Regions from separate parts of the Homo sapiens genome. Here region 1 is linked to region 2. The links are contacts of gene promoters, found by promoter capture Hi-C in human tissues and cell types (Jung and others, 2019). All regions are on one chromosome and are shown on one strand. The core of a region is centred on a gene start or on the middle of the fragment in contact, and the rest is flanking DNA. Distances in the headings are between cores, read along the strand shown.

Evidence for each region. Contacts are between HindIII fragments. The study calls those that stand out against the background at their distance.
Region 1: a contact is called between a fragment that was not itself captured here and the fragment with the promoter of LETMD1 in region 2, in 1 of the 25 tissues and cell types used here (spleen).

The regions. Positions count from the first base shown.
Region 1 is chr12:51,382,515-51,386,221 of GRCh38, forward strand. All of the region lies in intron 2 of GALNT6 (polypeptide N-acetylgalactosaminyltransferase 6), which reads right to left. Among named protein-coding and RNA genes, the nearest start is that of GALNT6, 7.0 kb to the right of the region's middle. The HindIII fragment of the contact is 3,077 bases long and covers 104-3,180 here.
Region 2 is chr12:51,046,338-51,049,745 of GRCh38, forward strand. LETMD1 (LETM1 domain containing 1) reads left to right here and starts at 1,990. Exons shown (of 9, transcript NM_015416.5): 1 at 1,990-2,141; 2 at 2,697-2,848. The coding sequence starts at 2,020. RefSeq lists enhancers at 1,265-1,384, 1,435-1,514, 1,605-1,874, 1,696-2,234, 1,985-2,034 and 1 more. The HindIII fragment of the contact is 9,846 bases long and covers 1-3,408 here.

The DNA of each region.
Region 1 (3,707 bases), core at 392-2,891, 340 kb after region 2:
GGTGGGAGACAGAAGAGCCAGTCACAGAACTGTAAGCAGTCTGGTATGGCAGGAGTAGCAGAAATTGGGCCTACAGAGGTGGCTGAAACCAAGTCCTAAGGGCCTTGTTCATCATGCTGAGGAGCATTTGCCCTTGACCCAAGGCATGGGGAGTAATAAAGCGTTAAGCTGGGAGCCCAGCATTACAGGAAGAGCAATATGACAGCGGTGGAGGGTATCTTGGAAAGGGACCTGCTTGGCAGCTGGATGACCCATTCGGAGTCTGACCCAGGAGAGTTAGTAGCAGTGTGGATGGAAGAGGGAGGGTATGGTGCCTAGGAAGACCCCCTTGGGTGATGGGGTGGGACAGTTTACCCCGTCTGGTACACAGAGGGACACAAAGGCTCAATTCCTTTCCCCAAGGGATTTGAAAATCTTATTGGAGAACGAGAACTGATAGCACTGACCAGGTGAAGGAAGCACCTGACCAGGGGAGATTCAGGAGCAGGAAAAGGACCTTTCACTGAATACTCTTTTGTACTTTGAACCCTGACTATATTACTTATTCAAAAATGAATAAAATTAAAGCAGAATAGCACAGACAGTAAGAGCTAAGCTGAGAGAGGTAGAGTTCCCTGTGGGTTTGAGGAAGGCTTCGGGGAGGAAATGGGGATTCAGTGTAGCAGGAGTTTCTTGTCACAGAGGTTGAGCTATGCTGGGGCTAGCACAGGGGGATTTGCTTGAGCTAGACACCTCATCAGTTCTGGAACTGTCCCGGCTAAGCCCACACAGAGGCCTGCAGAATGGGGGAGTGTTTGCCATGACAGCTTTGAACCGTCCTGCAGGCTTCGTCTTCCCTGCTACTTTCCATCTACCTTCCCACTCCAGCAAGAAAGAGGGAGCACAGTTAGAAACAAAGGCATGGTAAGATTGTAGTTACTAACTGTTGCCAGTGCTCAAGACTCACCCCCTCCAGGAAGGCCTCCTGACTGATTCACTCAGAATCACCTAGGTTACTCCAACTCTTTCATCCTGGCACTGCCTCGTGGTCCCTCACAGCAGGGCCTGTTTTTGCTTCTTTTATTTTCCCTGGAGAAAGAAATATAGGGTTAAATTGAGCTCTTCCTAGGCATCTAATCTCTCAATCCCATCTGGCTGCCTGAAGCTTTCTCTCTCAAACCTACAGTTCCTCAAGGTACTAACCACATCCTGAACCGAAATGAGACACCTGGGATTAGCCTTGGTGGTGAGGCACTCATTCTCTAGTTTGTTTGCTTAGCATGAGGGCAACAGGAAGAGTCCCTTAGAAGAGACACAGAATCTAGTGCAAGCCACAGGACTTTGGGGTTAAGGATTTCTGCTCCCTGTGTAGGAGATGATTCCCAGAAGTATGGTTAGCAAGGTCGTGGAGGTCGCCCCTCCACCAGCCTTGGAGAAAGAATAGCTGCTATTCTTTGCTATTGTTTCAAGTACAAAGCTTCACGAGATCCGCCCCTGGTGTCTTGTATATCTCCCTCACCTTTGGGCTCCCACACCTGGCCTCCTGCTTTCCTGGCAAGTGTGCCCGCAGCCCCCATCCACTCATTTCCCTCTCGCTGTGGCTCAGCACTTCTTCCCAAGTCTTTTTCCTCCAGCTACCCTTGGGCCTGCAACTCTTTGGACCATCCTTGGCTTTGATCCCGAGATGATGCCAGAAATCCTCTCTGAAAAGCCTGCCTAGATTGAACAAATGGGATTTGCTTCCCTGGCCCCACCGGCCAGAACACAAACTTACCTTCTCTCACTGGTGTAAGGAACTGAGGCTTTACCCAGCCCAGCTTGTATCAAACTGCTGATTACAATCCACTGTGATATTATAAAATAAATTCAGAGTGTTGCAAATTAGCATTCAAAAATTTCTTTAAAAGACCAGTTAGGACCAGGCACAGTGGCTCACACCTGAAATCCCAGCACTTTGGGAGGCCATGGTGGGCAGATCACTTTAGGCCAGGAGTTCAAGACCAACCTGGCCAACATGGTGAAACCCCTTCTCTACTAAAAATACAAAAATTAGCCAGGCATGGTGGCATGTGCCTGTAATCCCAACTACTCAGGAGACAGAGGCAGGAGAGTTGATTGAACCTAGGAGCTGGAGGTTGCAGTAAGCAGAAATAGCACCACCGTACTCCAGCCTGGGTGACAGAGCAAGACTCTGTCTCAAAAAAAAAAAAAAAAAAAAGACCAATTAGCAAAAAGAGACCAGTTAGCTGGGTGTGGTGGCATAGGCCTGTAATCTCAGCTACTTGAGAGGCTGATGCTGGAGGATTGCTTGAGCCCAGGAGGTTGAGGCTGTAGTTAGTTATGATCATGCCACTGCACTACAACCTAGGCAATAGAGCGAGACCCTGTCTCAAAAAATAAAAATAAATAAATTTTAAAAACCCAGAATAGAATGAAAAGAAAATATCAAAGTGCATCATGTATCACATGTAACACAGGCAAGTATTCGTTTTTTCTTTCTTTCTTTTTTTTTGGAGACAGGGTCTCATTCTGTTCCTTAAGCTGGAGTGCAGTGGTGCAATCTCAGCTCACTGCAGCCTTGACCTCCTGGGCTCAAAGGATCCTCCTACCTCAGCCTCTGGAGTAGCTGGGACCATAGGTGTGTGTCATCAAGACCGGCTAATTTTTATTTTTTGGTAGAGATGGGGGTCTCACTATGCTGCCCAGGCTGGTCTTCAACTCCTAGGCCGAAGCAATCCTCCTGCCTTGACCTCCCAAAGTGCTGGGATTACAGGTGTGAGCCATCATGTCCAGCCTGAAAAGTAAACTTTTATTTTAATGTTTGTTTCAGTCTATTAAAGATACACACTGCCTGATACAAAATTAAAATGATAAATTTGTTATTCAAAATTCATACAACTAAAGACAAAAGAAGTTTAAATGATTCCATTTTCAAATGATAGTTTTTATGGTTTGCAGAATTTATGCTTGTAATGTGATTAAATTATAAAACTGCCCTAAGATTTTTGGGATGCCCTGTCACATATACACAGGTACCGGGTCTCGCTATAAAGTATATTTCTCACTTTGGTCAAGTCATAGAAGTTTGAAAGCCAGTGACACAGTCCAAACCCCACAGTTTATATTCTAGCCCCCCTCCAAAAAGCCTTCTCAGATCTCCCAGCAGAATTCATCTCTTCCCTGCTTTGCCCCCTTAGCACCCGATTTTTATTTGTACTCCAGTCTCATCACAGCCCACCCTGTGTTTATGGACTCCTGGACCAGAGAGGCCATGCCATTTCCAGCTTTTTATCACCTACAAAGTCTAGCACAAGTTTTACATATAGCAGGTGTTCCATAAACTTTTTTTTTTTCTCTTGGAGACAGGGTCTCACTCTGTCACCCAGGCTGAAGTGTAGTGGCATGAACACAGCTTTCTGCAGCCTCGACCTCCCAGGCTCAAACAATCCTCCTATCTCAGCCTCCTGAGTAGCTGGGAATACAGAGGTGCGTGCCATCAGGCCTGGCTAGTTCCACAAACTCTTGTTAAATGAGATGAGGTTGGAAGGGTTAAATGTGGAGCACTGGCTTCACTAAATGATGTTCTGAATGAACTTACTGCAAGAAATACTTGACTTACAGGATATTCTGCCATTACACATTAGCTTGCTGTTTTGACTAGGTCTGTCTGTGGGTCTAACACCCTCATTTTATCAACGGCGAGGCCAGAATGGTTAGGTGACTTCTCT
Region 2 (3,408 bases), core at 740-3,239:
AAAAACAAAAAAAAAAACTACCTGAATATGAAGACCATGTCTTAGTCAACTTTTTTTTTTTTTTTTTTTTTTTTGAGACAGTCTCACTCTGTTGCCCAGGCTGGAGTGCAGTGGTGCGATCTTGGCTCACCTCAACCTCCGCCTCCTGGGTTAAAGCGATTCTCCTGCCTCAGCCTCCCGAGTAGCTGGGATTACAGGCGCCCACCACCACATCCGGCTAATTTTTGTATTCTTAGTAGAGATGAGGTTTCACCATGTTGTCCAGGCTGGTCTCGAACTCCTGACCTCGGGTAATCAGCCCGCTTCGGCCTCCCAAAGTGCTGGGATTACAGGCATGAGCCACGGCGCCCAGCCGTCTTAGTCAACTTTCTATCCCGTCCACCCCATCTACCCAACACTTGTGAAGATCCAGGGCCATCTTTTAAAACTTTTCCTCTGACTGCACGAGTGGTACAGTCATTAATAACCTGTGCTAATATAAAGCTCTGTGACCCATAAAGCATTATACAGATGTGGGAGCTTTCACAGCTGTATTCTCTTTGGATCCTCAAAGATTTCTTATAAAGTAGGTACTATTATAAGGGAAATAAACTCAGAGCTAAAGTGACATATCCAAGGTAACATTCACTAAAACAAACGTCAATGCCAAGATTGAACCTATATCCAGGGAACCCACATGGGATGCTCTACCACCTTCCATGAAGAATAAATATTCATATATATCCAAGAGGACTGTTAATTCTTGGAGGCAGTTAAGTACCACTTCTGGGAATCCTTCTTAGTTTCAAGTATGAATCTATTCAAACATGTTTACTGAACACCTACTATGTGCTAAGTAAGGCACCTAGTGTTGGAGGTGCAGCAATGAACAAGGCAGAGAAGATGCTTACCCTCATTCTAGTTCAGGGAGCTGTCAAACAAGGACACAAATACATAAACACTGTAAGTGACAGATGCTACAAAGAAAATACAAGGCCGGGTGCAGTGGCTCACGCCTGTAATCCCAGCACTTTGGGAGGCCAAGGCTGGCGGATCACTTGAGGCCAGGAGTTGAAGACCAGCCTGACCAACATAGTGAGATCCCGTCTCTACTAAAAATACAAAAATTAGCCGGGCGTGGTGGCGGACGCCTGTAATCCCAGATACTCGGGAGGCTGAGGCAGGAGAATCGCTTGAACCCGGGAGGCGGAGGCTGCAGTGAGCCAAGATCGCGCCACTGCACTCCAGCCGGGGCGACAGAGCAAAACTGTCACAAAAACAAAACAACAAAACAAAACAAAACAGAGTAACATGAGAATAAGTGTGAAGTGTGTCCTTTTCGCCGGCACTGCTTCAGATAGGGTGGTCACAGAAATCCTCTCAGAATAGTAACATTTAAGTTGAGACAGAGCTTGGTCTTCGGTAGGTGCTTAACGAAAACCATTTTCCCACAAACTTAGTTCTGGAAACGACAAAGAGAGGAAAAAGTGTACTCAGTCCGCACAGGGGCCGCTCCCAGGCCTCCAACCTTCGCCGCCAGACTGACTGGAAAGTGGACAGTTCCCGGCCTATCCACGCCGGCACCATTAGAGGGCGCCGCGGGTCCTCCTAGCCCCAGGCACTGGCAAACTGACATCTGCTACCTAACAGTCGAGGCTCCGACGCCCCGAGTCCAGGCAGAGGGCAAGGGCGGCGCTGGGAAGCCCTGAGGCCCTAAGGAATCGCGGAGGGTCACTGGGCGCCTCAAGGACAGGGTGCCCTCCGCGTCGCAAACCCACACCAGTGGCATAAGAACTCGCTCCCTCTGGGACACCCTGTTTCCGGCGCCTTTAAACCTGGAAGTACTGCTGTGTCCAATCCTGGCCCTCCTTCCGCACTTAGTCTTTGAGTCCTTCCCTCTCCTGGCTTGTGCTGGAGCCAAGCAGGCTATGGCTACCAATCAGCGCTCAGAAAAGACGCATGCGTCTTCGAACGAACGCGACGTACGGTTAACTTTGACCCAAAGACAACCTCTTCTCTCCCGCTTCTCTCGCTGTGAAGATGGCGCTCTCCAGGGTGTGCTGGGCTCGGTCGGCTGTGTGGGGCTCGGCAGTCACCCCTGGACATTTTGTCACCCGGAGGCTGCAACTTGGTCGCTCTGGCCTGGCTTGGGGGGCCCCTCGGTGAGGGACCTGTAGCGAGAAAAGCATTTTTGACGTCCAGGCTCTTTCAGTGTCTCAACCTTGCTTGCATTCTGTCTCTTAATTCTCAGAGTTCCACGCCTTGGCCCTGGAATTTTTATTCTTCTGTTCAGGATTCAAACTCCGATCCCCACTAGTGACCCGGCTTCCTGACCCTCTGTACTCTCAGTGCCCCATATTGTCTGGTTTCCCCGCGTGTCCTGAGCTCATCTTTCAGCCTCACTTTTTCGGCTCAGGTTTTACCGCTGCTATCTCGATTCCACCTCTTTCTGACTTAGCCTGCAGTTCAAATTGTCCCACAGGCATTGCGCTCTCTCCAGAGGCATACCCTGAGTTACTTTCCTGCCTGGCCTTTGCCTGATTTGTGTTTCACAGTCTGATTGCCTATCTCTTCTTGACCCCAAGACCTTCCTTGGATTTCAGAAGTGTCAAGCCTTGGGATACAATCTCCGAGACTCCTGCTTTACATTAGGGACTCAAGGCGTGAGGGAGCTTCTAGGACTGATTCCCAGATAGTCTCTTTGATCTTCCTTGTAGGTCTTCAAAGCTTCACCTTTCTCCAAAGGCAGATGTGAAGAACTTGATGTCTTATGTGGTAACCAAGACAAAAGCGATTAATGGGAAATACCATCGTTTCTTGGGTCGTCATTTCCCCCGCTTCTATGTCCTGTACACAATCTTCATGAAAGGTAAAAACGAAACTACAATAGAAATTCCGGAATCAGCTCTTGGGCAGGGTCAAAGAGTTAGCATAAATAAGATCATTTGCAGGTTCTGCTATGGGGATGTGAGCCGAGATATCTTATATTTCATAAATGCCTGCGCCTTAAACTAATTCCTATAAATTAGCACTTCTTGAGAATGTTTCTAGAAAGATGTTATGAGAAACAACTTATGACAGCAACATGAGGGAGGGAGAATATAGGTATGTTCTCGTACTTTCTTAACCACACACCTGGCTATAGTAGAAATTTTTTGCCTTGCACACGGCAGGGATCTGTGGCTGTATAGACCTGCCCTGTGATGTATCAGTTGACTTACCCATAGGAAAATGAGGTCTAACCCTTGTTATGAATCTATATTAGGTAGTATGTTGTAGTGGCAATAGCCCTACATAATACTTGGTTTCTAAATGTTTTGTTTCAAATCAGAGATCCTTAGTTACTAGGAGAAGATATGTATCGTGTCAAGTGTCTACTCTGGAGCCAGATTGCCTGATTCAAATCCCAGTTCGTCACTGTGCGATTGG